Regions from separate parts of the Homo sapiens genome. Here regions 1 and 3 are each linked to region 2. The links are contacts of gene promoters, found by promoter capture Hi-C in human tissues and cell types (Jung and others, 2019). All regions are on one chromosome and are shown on one strand. Each heading gives the region's core, a stretch centred on a gene start or on the middle of the fragment in contact. The rest is flanking DNA. Distances are from core to core; before and after follow the strand shown. Region 1 overlaps PARP16 (poly(ADP-ribose) polymerase family member 16). Region 2 holds the start of MTFMT (mitochondrial methionyl-tRNA formyltransferase). Region 3 has its middle 8.2 kb from the start of CILP.

Evidence for each region. The method cuts DNA at HindIII sites, captures the fragments that hold promoters and counts their contacts. A contact is called where the count stands out against the background at its distance.
Region 1: a fragment that was not itself captured here is called in contact with the fragment with the promoter of MTFMT in region 2 in 2 of the 25 tissues and cell types used here (liver and small bowel).
Region 3: a fragment that was not itself captured here is called in contact with the fragment with the promoter of MTFMT in region 2 in 1 of the 25 tissues and cell types used here (lymphoblastoid cells).

Annotation. Positions count from the first base shown.
Region 1 is chr15:65,257,346-65,261,705 of GRCh38, reverse strand. It overlaps PARP16 (poly(ADP-ribose) polymerase family member 16), which reads left to right. Exons shown (of 6, transcript NM_001316943.2): 5 at 680-821; 6 at 2,164-3,607. The coding sequence ends at 2,299. Among named protein-coding and RNA genes, the nearest start is that of SNORA24B, 26 kb to the left of the region's middle. The HindIII fragment of the contact is 5,032 bases long and covers 445-4,360 here.
Region 2 is chr15:65,026,665-65,031,241 of GRCh38, reverse strand. It overlaps MTFMT (mitochondrial methionyl-tRNA formyltransferase), which reads left to right and starts at 1,603. Exons shown (of 9, transcript NM_139242.4): 1 at 1,603-1,837; 2 at 4,202-4,411. The coding sequence starts at 1,629. It also overlaps the pseudogene LOC100130437. RefSeq lists silencers at 1,451-1,640, 1,891-2,190. The HindIII fragment of the contact is 8,500 bases long and covers 1-4,577 here.
Region 3 is chr15:65,217,653-65,221,698 of GRCh38, reverse strand. No RefSeq gene overlaps it. Among named protein-coding and RNA genes, the nearest start is that of CILP, 8.2 kb to the right of the region's middle. The HindIII fragment of the contact is 5,084 bases long and covers 136-4,046 here.

The DNA.
Region 1 (4,360 bases), core at 1,711-4,210, 230 kb before region 2:
CAGGCTGATCACCTGAGGTGTCCGGAGTTTGAGATCAGCCTGGCCAACATGGTGAAACCCCGTTTCTACTAAAAATACAAAAATTAGCCGGGCATGGTGGCAGGCACCTGTAATCCCAGCTACTTGGGAGGCTGAGGCACAAGAGTTGCTTGAACCCGGGAGGCAGAGGTTGTAGTAAGCCAAAACTGCGCTGTTGCACTCCAGCCTGGACGAAAAAAGCAAGACTCCATCTCAAAAAAAACAAAAAAAAAACAAAACATGTATATATATAAAACGCCTCTTAACAGGCATTTTATATATAAAATATATATAAAATTTATATATAAAATGCCTGTTAAGAGGCGTTTTCAGATCAAGTCCTGTTCCTAGCTTCCAGTCCCAGCGTATTTCTTTGCTATGGCCATCAATTTGCTTCTTCCTTCTGTTCTCCCCACTCAGTTGAGTTTTGTTTTTTCTTCCTTGTATCCCTTATATTTTCCTACTCTTTTTTTCCTCCTCCCATTTGCCTGCCAGATTCTCCGTTTTTTTCAGTGCTGCTTCATGCACACACAGGTCTGTTCCTCAGCCTGCCAGGCCTTCTTCCCCCTCAGCACCAGGAGGCTTGACTTATTTCTATTTATAATGTGCTTCCTTAGTTCTGTTTCCCCCAGTGAAGATGTGTTTTACTCTCCTTATTCAGATTCCAAGGAGATAGATCGCAGACGAGCGAGAATCAAACATAGTGAAGGGGGAGACATCCCTCCCAAGTACTTCGTGGTCACCAATAACCAGCTGCTGCGAGTGAAGTACCTCCTGGTGTATTCACAGAAGCCACCCAAGAGGTAAGGTCCAAGAGAACAACTAATGGCTGTATTCAGAGTGCTGGCTTTCTTAGTTGTTGTAGGTATCAGCCTCCCCTCCCCCAGCCTTAGACCTCCGCTAGATGTCAAGTATGTAAAGCACCATGCTGGACACGGTGAGAAGTGAGAGATAGGATCTGGAGAAGATGTGGTCCCGACCCTAAGAGGACTGTATTCCAGTGAGAAGAGAGAAAGATTGGTAAACACAAATAGCATGAGAGACTGACTGAGTCCAAATTGGCTGCCGCAAACAGTGTGGCCCCTTAGCCATTAGGCCCATGATTGCAGTCTGAGACCCACCGATGAGGTTAAGCTGAGAGGCAGGGCAGTGACTGGACACCGGTTGTGATTGTGCACAGGCTGGCTCAGTAGCTTCCCACAGTGGCTGCTGAACCACTGACTGCCCCTCTCTGGACCTGAGATGCTTCATCTTTATCTCTAAAATGAGGGCCTTGAACTCAATAGCAGATGTGGGCCTTCAGACCTTATCAGCTTTGGTGGATGCCTAGTTCCATCTCTGCAGTGTGGGAGTAAGTGTGGGGCTCACCAGCGTTGGGGGCCACTCTTGAGATTTTGTTGCATTGTTGGAATCCATGATGGTGCTTCTTGCAGGGGCCAGCAGCAGGTAAGTAGATATGACAGGAAAAGGGGTCACTTTAAATAATCCCCACTCCTGCTTGTACACACCAGTGGTTTCCATGCTTCCAGACTTCATAAACCAGTAAAGTCTCCTCCCGACCCCTGTCCAAATTTGGGAAATGTATATAGGGTGCCTGGGTCCAGGTGACATTATGCTTTGGTTTAAAATCATCTAACTTTTTATCCTTGAAAATTCCATTCCTTTCCCACTTCTCCCTGGAGCATCTCTTTAGTGCACACTTGGGTGGTTTAGATCATCTCCTAGTGGGCCAAAGAGGATTTCCCCAGCTTGGATTTATATCTGCATGTGTCTAAAAGTGAAAAGACTTCAGCTAAATTACCTGCCACCTGCCACCATCTGGGCAGACACCCTGAGCTAGGTCATTGTTATAGATACCAAGATGGGTTGTAAATGGTAAAAGAGGAGCTACAAAAGGGAAGATCAGGATGAGCTCATTGCATAGCTGTCTTTGCGCATTTAGAAAATATCCTGTTGAAAGGCGTGTCAGTGCCTGGGCAAACAGCCCCAGGTTTCTTGAGCAAGGAAGCACGAAGCTTCATTTCATGGCTCAGGCAAAGGATGAAATTCATCATTTTGTCTTCTTAGAGCCAGACTTGTTGTACACACTTAAAAAAAATGTTTTTCTCTTTTTGCCAACACCACTCTTTTTTCCCTCTTAAGCAGGGCTTCGAGCCAGCTCTCCTGGTTTTCCAGCCATTGGTTTACCGTCATGATATCCCTGTATCTGCTGCTGCTGCTCATAGTGAGTGTCATCAACTCCTCTGCTTTCCAACACTTTTGGAATCGTGCGAAAAGATAATCTTTCTGGGCCTGGTGTGGGGGCTACCTCAACTATGTGCCTTATGGTAACTTGTTCTGTACCTCCTATGCCTCATGTCCAGCCAGGTTGAGCCTAGGGGCCAGTTGGGGGACCACAGGACAATTTTCATATGGCCTAAATGTATCCATTGCCTTTGATGATGTTCCCAGCCATACTCCAGTCAACGGGGACTACTAGTCCCTCACTCTTAGGTTTTAGGGGAGTCCTTCCATCTGCTCCTTCTTAAACTGTCCTAGGGAGTTGGCTTTTCAGCCAGGGCCAAAGGAAAAAGCCCTGCTGCATTTAAAAACAAAGTGTCCAAGCTGTCAGTGGTGTGTTTACAATCTCTCCTGGCAGAGGTTGGCCCTTTCTCTAATGCCTTCTGGAAGGCGGAAAATGTGGGAACTATAAATCACTAGGCGGTTGCCTTGTTTTGACTTGAGACACCCAAGAGGAACAGTCATGTTTCTCATAAAAATCAGTGGGATCATTTTTGAATTCCATCAGCCTTTGTATGTGAGTGCAAAACATTTTAACAGTTTTCTCAAATCAACAAACAGCCTTCTCCTATAGCTGTACTTGCCCCCCTCCCCAAAAAACCATGGATGAGAAAGAAAGGAGTCAGGGGCCTGATAAAAAATACAGACTTAATGAGCAACTCAAGATGAGAAAACTGCTCTTTTTCCAAAAATTACCAACTGCTGATTACAGCTGAAATGGAACCAAATGTTTGTTTTCTGATTTTTTTTTAATAGCTGTTTAACAAATTAGTCTTTGCTGAGTAAAAGGGGAAATTTCTAAACCTAGTGCACTGTTTGGCCAGTGTCCACAGCCTCTTTTCTGGCTGTGTTTTAGAGAAAGGGATTTGAGCTATAGGCTCGCCTCCTGTTCTCATTCTCACAAAGCTGCCTTGACTGTGGCCTGCAACCACGAGTGCCATGCTTTCAGGTCTTCTGTGGCCTACTGGCCTTCAAGACAGAGGCCTGCCCCAGTGTGCCACAGATCCATGTGGATGGAGCCTCCTTCAGAGGGGTCACAGGTCTTTGAGACTCAGCCTGGGCTTTAATGTGTAGGAAAAGCCTTCTGGCCACCCAGAGAGCCGGAGCCCTGCTTGCTGTATTCTCTGCTCCCTTCTTCCTGCTGGGTTTTAGCCATAATAGGGCCCGGTACGATTTGGGAGTGACATTTCTGTAAAGAAGAGGAAAAATCATTTTTCTATAATTTGTAAAGTTGTGAAAGAGCCACTACCACAGTTTTTACATTGATTATTGGAACATTTCAGAATAAATAAAGATATTTTCTTAATGATTTAAGTTGCCTTTGTGAGTGCTTTTAGCCTTAGTGTGAGTCTGCCCTATATGCCTTGTTGTTAAAAACTTTATCTTCCATCCTTCCTTGTTCAAACTAGCTGTTTGCTGGAGAGCATATATCACCAGGATATGATATCTAGGAGGTGTTGGATTTCTAGTTAATGACTTAACAAACGTGAGTACCTACTGTATGCCAGGCACTAGGAATACGAGCAGGATCAAAGTCAGAAAGCCCCTGCTTTCACAGAGCTGACAGCCTGCAAGGTGGGCAGATGGACAAACATTTCAAGAGTGAGGTTGGGAGTTTATGGTATTATAAAGTTTAGGGAAATACTTGGCAAGGAGTCCTAACATGGTCTAGGGTCAGAAAATACTCAGGTGACACATGTAACATTGCAAGGCACCTTACTATACTGGTTAATTTTCACAACAGGCCTTATCTACTTTTTTTTTTTTTTTTTTTTTTTGAGACAGAGTCTTGCTCTGTCACTCAGGCTGGAGTGCAGTGACGCAATCTCGGCTCACTGCAGCCTCTGCCTCCCGGGTTCAAGCAGTTTTCCTGCCTTAGCCTCCCTGTAGCTGGGATTACAGGCACACACCACCATGCCTGGCTCATTTTTGTATTTTTATTTTTATTTTATTTCTTTCTTAAATTTTTTTTTTGAGCTGGAGTCTCGCTCTGTCACCTAGGCTAGAGTGCAGTGGTGCAATCTCAGCTCATTGCAACCTCTGGCTCACTGCAACCTCTGCC
Region 2 (4,577 bases), core at 354-2,853:
GATACCATTTAGAGATGAAGAGATGTGGGAAGGCAGTCTAGGAAGGGAGCATGAGCAAAGGCACAGGAGCAGGGATGTGCAGAGCTCATAATTTAGGAAAAAGGACTGGTCCAGGGTCACTGGGTTTAAGACTGTGTGATGGGAAAAGGTGGTGAGACGGCAGGGCGCAGTGGCTCATGCCTGTAATCCTAGCACTTTGGGGGGCCAAGGCAGGCAGATCACCTGAGGTCAGGAGTTCAAGACCAGCCTGGTCAACATAGTGAATCCCATCTCTACTAAAAATACAAAAATTAGCTAGGTGTAGTGGCGCATGTCCCAGCTACTTGGGAGGCTGAGGCAGGAGAATCGCCTGAACCTGGGAAGCAGCGGTTGCAGTGAGCCAAGATCGCCCGCCACTGCCCTCCAGCCTGAAAAACAGAGCGAGACTCCATCTCAAAAAAAAAAAAAAAAAAAAAAAAAATGGTGGTGAGAATAAGATTAGAACAAAATTCGGTTTCAGTCTCTGCTCAGATCCTGTTTCATGGATGTCTGACTCCACTCAAGGAGGCTTTGGGGATACAGAATCTAAGCACTAACGGTCCTCGGAGGTCTTCTGGGGATAAGGTTCCCTGTCCATTTCCCTAGGAATCACCTCTATGGTATCCTTCTGTGTGCAAAGGAACCCACAGGGGAGGAGTAAAGATGGAGCCTTCGATTCAAGAAAGTAACTGCAGACAAGTAACTAAGGCTCAGTTTCCTCAGGTGCAAAATGTGGGTAATTGACTTGCCTAATACATAGGATCGCTGAGAAGGCCCAACGGCTAGGATTACAAGCGTTGGAATTACAAGAGTCCCACCTCTGCTCTGTCCTTTACTAGCTGTGTGGACCTTATACACTGGTAAGTCCTTAATTTCACGGAGCTTCAGTTTCTCTTCAGTAACATATTTGTAATAGTATCTACCTCCTAAGGTTGATCTGATGATTAACCAGAATAATGAATATAAAATGCTTAGCAAAAACGTGGCACGGAGTGAAGTACTCAGCAAATATTGGTTATAATGGTTGAGGAAATGACATGCACTATATACATGAGGTTTCATTGTCTGAAAACATGCACGATTTGTTACCAAAAGACTTATCCTGGGCCGGCGCAGTGGCTCACGCCTGTAACCCCAGCACTTGGGGAGGCCAAGGCAGGAGGATTGCTTGAGACCTGGGCAACATAGTGAGATACTCTCTCTACAAAAAATCAGCCCAGCATGGTGATGTGTGCCTGTACCCCAGCTACTCCGGAGGCTGAGGTGGGAGGATCCCTTGAGCCCAGGAGCAGTGAGGTTGCAGTAAGCAGAGATCGCGCCACAGCACTCCAGCCTGCGCGACAGAGCAAGACCCTTTCTGAAATAAATAAATAAATAAATAAATAAATAAATAAAGCGATTTTAAAAAGAAAAGAAAGACTTATTCTGGAGGATTGGCTACATAGTGCAAATAAACAGAACAAAAATCTAGGGCCGCTGTAGCGGGCAAATTCGTTCACCAACTCCAACCAGACCCCGCCTCCAAGCAGGCAAGCCCCGCCCTCCCCAGGCTGCACCCTTGTCCCCGCCCCGATGCGCCTGCGCAGGGCCGGCCGCCGGCGGCCGAGGCGATGAGGGTGTTGGTGCGGCGCTGTTGGGGTCCTCCGCTGGCTCATGGCGCCAGGCGTGGGAGGCCGAGTCCCCAGTGGCGAGCACTGGCCCGACTCGGCTGGGAGGACTGCCGGGACTCCAGAGTCCGCGAGAAGCCTCCCTGGCGGGTGCTCTTCTTCGGCACGGACCAGTTCGCCCGCGAGGCGCTGCGGGCGCTGCACGCCGCCAGGTACCCGGGCCAGGGATCCGGGGACCCGGCCGCTGAAGGCCTCCAGGCCGCGCCCGGGCGGCCGGCCCCGAGGGTTTTGGACTTCTGGTTGCGGAAAGCATGGGCGGCAGAGCGGTGTGGGCCCAGATCTCGGCGTCTTCTGGCTCCCAGAAGGTGCGCCATTCCCGCCGGTCAGCCTTTGGGCGCCTAGTACCTGCGGTCTGCGCCCCTCACTCCCCGCCGCCTCTGTGGGTTCTCCAGGCGCCCTGCCACCCACGCTGTGCCGAGCTGGGGCTGGGCGCTCTGCCTGCATCCCCCGGGCCAGTCCCACGGCCTCCCTGCCCGTTTTGAGTGTGGGGAATCCGTGGCTCAGAGAGGTTATGCGATTGCCCAAGGTCATCAGCCGAGGTGGTTCGGACTAAAACCAGGTCCCACTTCAAAGTTCCCTGCTTTGCAGTTCCTCCTGACCCCCATCCTTCGGCACACCCGTGTCTCGCTCTTTTGCTCCCCCTGTGCTCCTTGTATACAAGGACATAGTCCAAAAACGACCTGTTTTCAAAAGAATAAATTTATAAATCAGAACTGTTAGGTATACATTTAGTATTCATAATATTTAACAAGTTTTGTTTACTGGGAAAGAAAATTATTTGAAATCCAACCAGTCCTGAGAGTCCATGGTATGTGGTGGCAATACCGTATATACTTCTCTGCCTCTTTTTCCCAATTAATGTTTTTTATTTCCCCATTCTGTTTTTTTCTGACGCAGTCCTCCTTCCACTTTTTTTGGTCATCTCCATCTCCTTTTCCCTACAGATACTTCACAGCAGCCCCTCATGTATTGAATCCTTCGTCAATCCCCTGTGTGGTTTTCCTTCCTCCACACACCCCTCTGTGCACACACCCGGAAGGAAACCCCATGTTCCCTTTGCACACCCTTCATGGGCTGCTGTTGTCACATGCGTCTCTCACTGCATTTATACATTTATACCAACACTTTTTTTGTTTGTTTCTGAGGCGAGGTCTCGCGCTGTCCCCCAGGCTGGAGTGCAGTGGCCGGCTCATAGCTCACTGCAGCCTCGACCTCAAAGATCAAGCAATCATCCCATCTCAGCTTCCAGAGTAGCTAGGACTACGGGCGTGCACCACCACGCCTGATTTTTAAATTTTTTGTAGAGGCGGGTTTTCACCATGTTGCCCAGGCTTATCTCAAACTCCTGGGATCAAGTGATCCTCTCACCTTGGCCTCCCAAAGTGCTGAGATTACAGGCCTGAGCCATCATTCCTGGCCTATCCTGATACTTCTGATGATGCTTCACTTGGCAGCTCCATTACTCCTGTGCTTTCTTTATAGTGCCCCAGGACATACTCCTCATAACTCCTCAACGTGTACATACAATACCTGTTTAATAAATGTACCCCCCTGGGTACTAGAATGCTATGCAGCAGGTAGAAAGGATGAGGTAGTGCTACAGGTACTGCCATGGAATGATAGCCATGTTATGTATTTTTGTTTGTTTTTTAAAAAGTAGTGTTTGAATGGCATCATGGTTATGGTAAAAAAGTTCCATGGATTCAAAGGATATACAGTGAAAAGTTACTTCCTTCCACCTCTGTTTAGCAGTTCCCAGTTCCTTTATCCAGAGACAGCCACTGTTTTCAGTTCCTTCTAGAAATGTTCAGTGAATATACAAATATACGTATATTTAACCCATTTTTCAAAAAGACACATAATAGCATATATAGCATTGTTAAAAGGAAAAAAAATGCAAAGCAGTATGTAATATCCCAGTTGTGTAAAGTATCCATACTGTATATGTTTCTGTATGCACAGGAAATCCCTAGAATGATACTGTTCAAACAGTAGCCACTAGCCACGTGTCACTCTTTACATTTTAAATAATTAAAATTAAATAAAAAATGAAAACTGAGGCTGGGCACGGTGTTCACGCCTGTAATCCCAGCACTTTGGGAGGTGGAGGCGGACGGATCACTTGAGGTCAGGAGTTGGAGACCAGCCTGGCCAACATGGGGAAACCCTGCCTCCACTAAAAAACACAAAAATTAGCTGGGTGTGGTGGTGCATGCCTGTAATCCCAGCTATTCGGGAGACTGAGGCAGGATAATCGCTTGAACCTAGGGGGCAGAGGTTGCAGTGAGCTGAGATCGCTCCACTGCACTCCAGCCTGGGTGACAGAGTGAGACTCCAGCTCAAAAAAAAAAAAAGAAAAAGAAAAAATGAAAACTCAGTCTCTCACACTAGTTTTAATCATTTAGCCCTAAATGCTTCATGAGATTAATCATAAACATACTTAGCGATATGTGAAGTAGTTTTAGCTTTGAGTCATTGCCTTAACACTGTCACATTTTTCTTCCTATCTAATTTAGGGAAAACAAAGAAGAAGAGTTAATCGACAAACTGGAGGTGGTCACAATGCCTTCCCCATCACCAAAAGGACTGCCAGTGAAGCAATATGCTGTGCAGTCTCAGCTTCCCGTATATGAGTGGCCGGATGTGGGATCTGGAGAATATGATGTTGGAGTAGTGGCTTCGTTTGGCCGACTTTTGAATGAGGCTCTTATTCTTAAATTTCCCTAGTAAGTTTTATTTGTAAGGAAATACAGTATAGAAACCTTGGTCTTTATAAATGGACCTTGTATATAAAATGTGATAATTTGAACTCTATGCTTTCTGTAATATTTTCTTTTTTTATTTTTACCATTTTATTTTTCTGTACATGTTTGCTTAAAGTCAATGAATTTC
Region 3 (4,046 bases), core at 1,428-3,927, 190 kb before region 2:
AATTTTTGTTTACTTACTGATTTATTATGTTTTTGAGACAGGGTCTTGCTCTGTCACCAAGGCAGGAGCACACTGGTGTGATCATGGCTTACTGCAGCCTTGATTTCCCAGGCTCAAGCGATTTTCCCACCTCAGCCTCCCGAGTAGCTGGGATCATAGGCATGTGGTCCCAGCCCGGCTGATTTTTTTTATTTTTTGTAAAGATGGGGTCTCACTATGTTGCCCAGGCTGTTCTTGAACTCCTGAGCTCAAGTGATTCTTCCAATTTGGCCTCCCAAAGTAGCGGGATTACAGGGGTGAGCCATTGCACCTGACCTTGACCCATACTTCACATCATATATGAAAACTAGTTCAAAATGAATCATAGACCTGAAGGTAGAACCTAAAACTAAAAAAGTCCCAGAGAAAACATAGGAGAGCTGAGTGGGGTGGCTCATGCCTGCAGTCTTAGCACTTTGGGAGCCCAAGGCGGGAAGATCGCTTGAGCCCAGGAATTTCAGACAGCAGTGAGCTATGATCGCACCACTTGTACTCCAGCCTGGACAATAAAGCAAGACCCTGTCTCTAAAAGCAAAAACAAAAACATAGAAGAAAAAGCCTTTGCAACTGTGGATTTGGCAAGGATTTCTTAGATGCAACACCAAAAACACAATCCATAAAATAAAAAATTGATCAATTAGAAAAGATAAGCCATAGACTGGGAAAAAATATTTTCAAAACATATATCTGATAAAGGAATTGTATCCAGAATCTATAAAGTACACATTAAACTCGATAATAAGAAAATAAACGGCACTTTGGAAGGCCGAAGCAGAAGGATAACTTGAGCTCAGGAGTTTGAAACCAGCCTGGGCAACATGAAATCCCATTTCTACAAAAAATAAAACCCAATTAGCAAGGTGTGGTGGCATGCACCTGTAGTCCTAGCTACTTGGGAGGCTGAGGCAGGAAGATCTCTTGAGCCTGGGAGGTGGAGGTTGCAATGAGCCATCATGATGCCATTGCACTCCAGCCTGTGCAAAAGAGCGAGACCCTGTCTCCAAAAAAGAAAAAAAAAAGAAATGACTCAATTACAAAATGGGCAAAATATCTGTACAGATACTTCATCAAAGAAGATATATGAATGGCAATTAAGATTCCTAACATCATTGGTCACTAGGGAAATGCAAATTGAAATCACAATGAGATCACACTGTACACCTATTAGAATGGCTAAAAACAAACAAATAATCAAACATAAAACCTTGACAATATCAGGTGCTGATGTGAATGCTGAGCAACTAGAACTCATACATTGCTGGTGGGAATGTAAAAGGTACCATCACTTTGGAAAACAGTTTAGCAGTTTCTTATAAAGTTGAACATACACTTACCATAGAGCCTACTTGTAGGTATTTACCCAAAAGAAATGAAAAACATGTTTACACAAAAGCCTGTGTACAAATTATAGCTAAAATGTACTTGCTAAAAACTAGAGAACTGGGCCGGGCGCGGTAGCTCACACTTGTAATCCCAGCACTTTGGGAGGCTAAGGCCGGTGGATCACCTGAGGTCAGAAATTCAAGACCAGCCTGGCCAACATGGTGAAACTCTGTCTCTTTAAAAAAAAAATACAAAAATGAGCCAGGCGTGGTGGTGCATGTAGTCTCCAGCTACTCAGAAGGTGGAGGCAGGAGAGTCACTTGAACCAGGAGGGGGAGATTGCAGGGCAGTAAGATTGTGCCACTGCACTCCAACCTAGGTGACAGAGCGAGACTCCGTCTCAAAAAAATAAGAATAAAATTTTTTTTAAAAAACTGAAGAACTGGCCAGATGCAGTGGCTCACACCTGTAATCCTAGCACTTTGGGAAGCCAAGGAGACGGATCACCTGAGGTGAGGAGTTCGAGACCAGCCTGGCCAACATGGCGAAACCCTGTCTCTACTAAAAACACAAAAAAATTAGCCAGGCGTGGTGGTGGGAGCCTGTAATCCCAGCTACGTGGGAAGCTGAGGGAGGAGAATCACCTAAACCCGGAGGCGGAGGTGGCAGTGAACTGAGATCGCACCACTGCACTCCAGCCTGGGCAACAGAGCGAGACCTCATCTCAAAAAAAACAAACAAAAAACAAAAAACTAAACAAAACAAAACAAAAAGCTGAAGAACTGTAGACAATCTACATGTCCTTCATCTGGGAAATGAAGAAACAAATTGTGCTACGTACATGCAATGAATACTACTCAGCAGTAAAAAGGAATGAACGGTTGATACACACAACACCATGGACGATTATACTAAATGAAAGAAACCAAATTCAAAAGGCTCCTACCATATGCCTCCATTTATATGACATTCTCAAAAAGGCAAAACCACAGTGAAAGAAAGATTTGTGGTTGTCAGTAATTGGGGATGGGGAGAAGGGCTGACTACAAAGGAAACTTCTGAGGTTTTGGAAATATTTTTTATCTTAATTGTGATGGTGTTACATGATTATATTTGTCAAAAATCACAGAAGTGTAGATCCAAAAGACTGAATTTTACAATATAAAAATTTCAACTTTTAAAAATTGGGGGTGGGATTCAAATTCCTTCTCCCTTTTGTTTGTCTTCCTTGTCACTGCCCAACATCCTGCCCTTGAAGCTCTTGTTCTCCTAGAGAAAACATTGCCCAGATTCGGCCACACTGAAGACTGCCTTGCTTCTGAGGAAAAAAGGGAAACCCACTAAGAATGGTCTGCAGGGCCACGTGTCTGTCTCTGTCCCACCCTCTGTCCCACGCCATCTGTGTAGGCCCAGTTGCCAAGGGCGACCCAGCCTTTCTAACCTCCATTTCACCTTCCCTGGGCTAGAGTCCTGGTGGTGACCTGGGCAGGGACCAAACCCTTACGGCCCAGGTGCTATATGGGCGAAGATTTTGCTTGGAAAGAGGGCGGCTCCTCCCACTCAACTTCTCACAGCTGTGTTTTCTAACCAATAAAATACCCACGTGTCCGGAGAACATATAGCCAGAGAGGGCATCTACCCAGCATCCACCTCACTTCATCCCCTACCAAGGCCACCCCTGTCACTGCTGCAGGCTTTTCTGGGCTGCCAGCATCTTGGCCAGAGCTGAAGCCACACCACACCCAGAGCCATCTGGGACCTCTCAAGAGAGTCATGAAGAGGCCTCGGGTCATGGGAAGGAGAGCAGCAGAGTCTGGTGGGTGCATGGGTGAGCTTATGCCCTAGAACACCCAGGGCATACCCATGGTGAGTGTGAATAGCCAGGGGAGGGTGAACACTCTTGAGATAACACCTGGGTGAATGTGCACCCCCTAATCCTATACAAAATTGTGAATGTGGATGTTCATGGGAAATACAAGGGGGATACAGTGGTATGAACACTATGACGTGCACATATAGAGTAGGAACTCAGCTGGTTCATGCAGTGAACACTACAATGTCACTGAATGAGAGCAAACTATGAAAGTGTGGTGAAGACGCTATGGACTGTGAACATACTATGGTAAATTTGTTGAATGTCATGGTGACATTGCATGAATTCTGTAGTCAGTGGTGAAAACACGGGCCTCTAGGGTGTGTGTGAACACACTGTGATAAGCATGGTGGACGCTATAGATGCTGTGTGTGAACATAAGGCCCTGACTGGGCTGAATCCATCATAGGAACACTGAGGTGACCCTGCTTTAAGCTTGAGAAGCATTCTGGGGTGACCACAGTGAGCGTGTTATGCAGAGGGTGGAGAGCTCTACTGAGCACGTTTTGGAGTATCTGCTGTGATCATAGCCCATTCTCTGGGAATCTTCTCCCACCTATGGCCGCTGAGTAAGCACATGCTTACAAGACTAGGTGCTGATCAGTACGCTGCAGTATTCACAGCAACCAGTGTGGCATGTGCAGTGCTGAAGGTTTCTTTCTTTTTCTCCTATTTCCTAAGTTGGAGTTGTTATTATGGTTGCTTGGTTTTGCTCAACTGTTCTGGAGTGTGTTGCTATGGTTACAAGATGGCAGGGGTTACATAGGTGGGTTTGGAACGGAACAAATGATGGGTAAACTCTGAGGTTGAC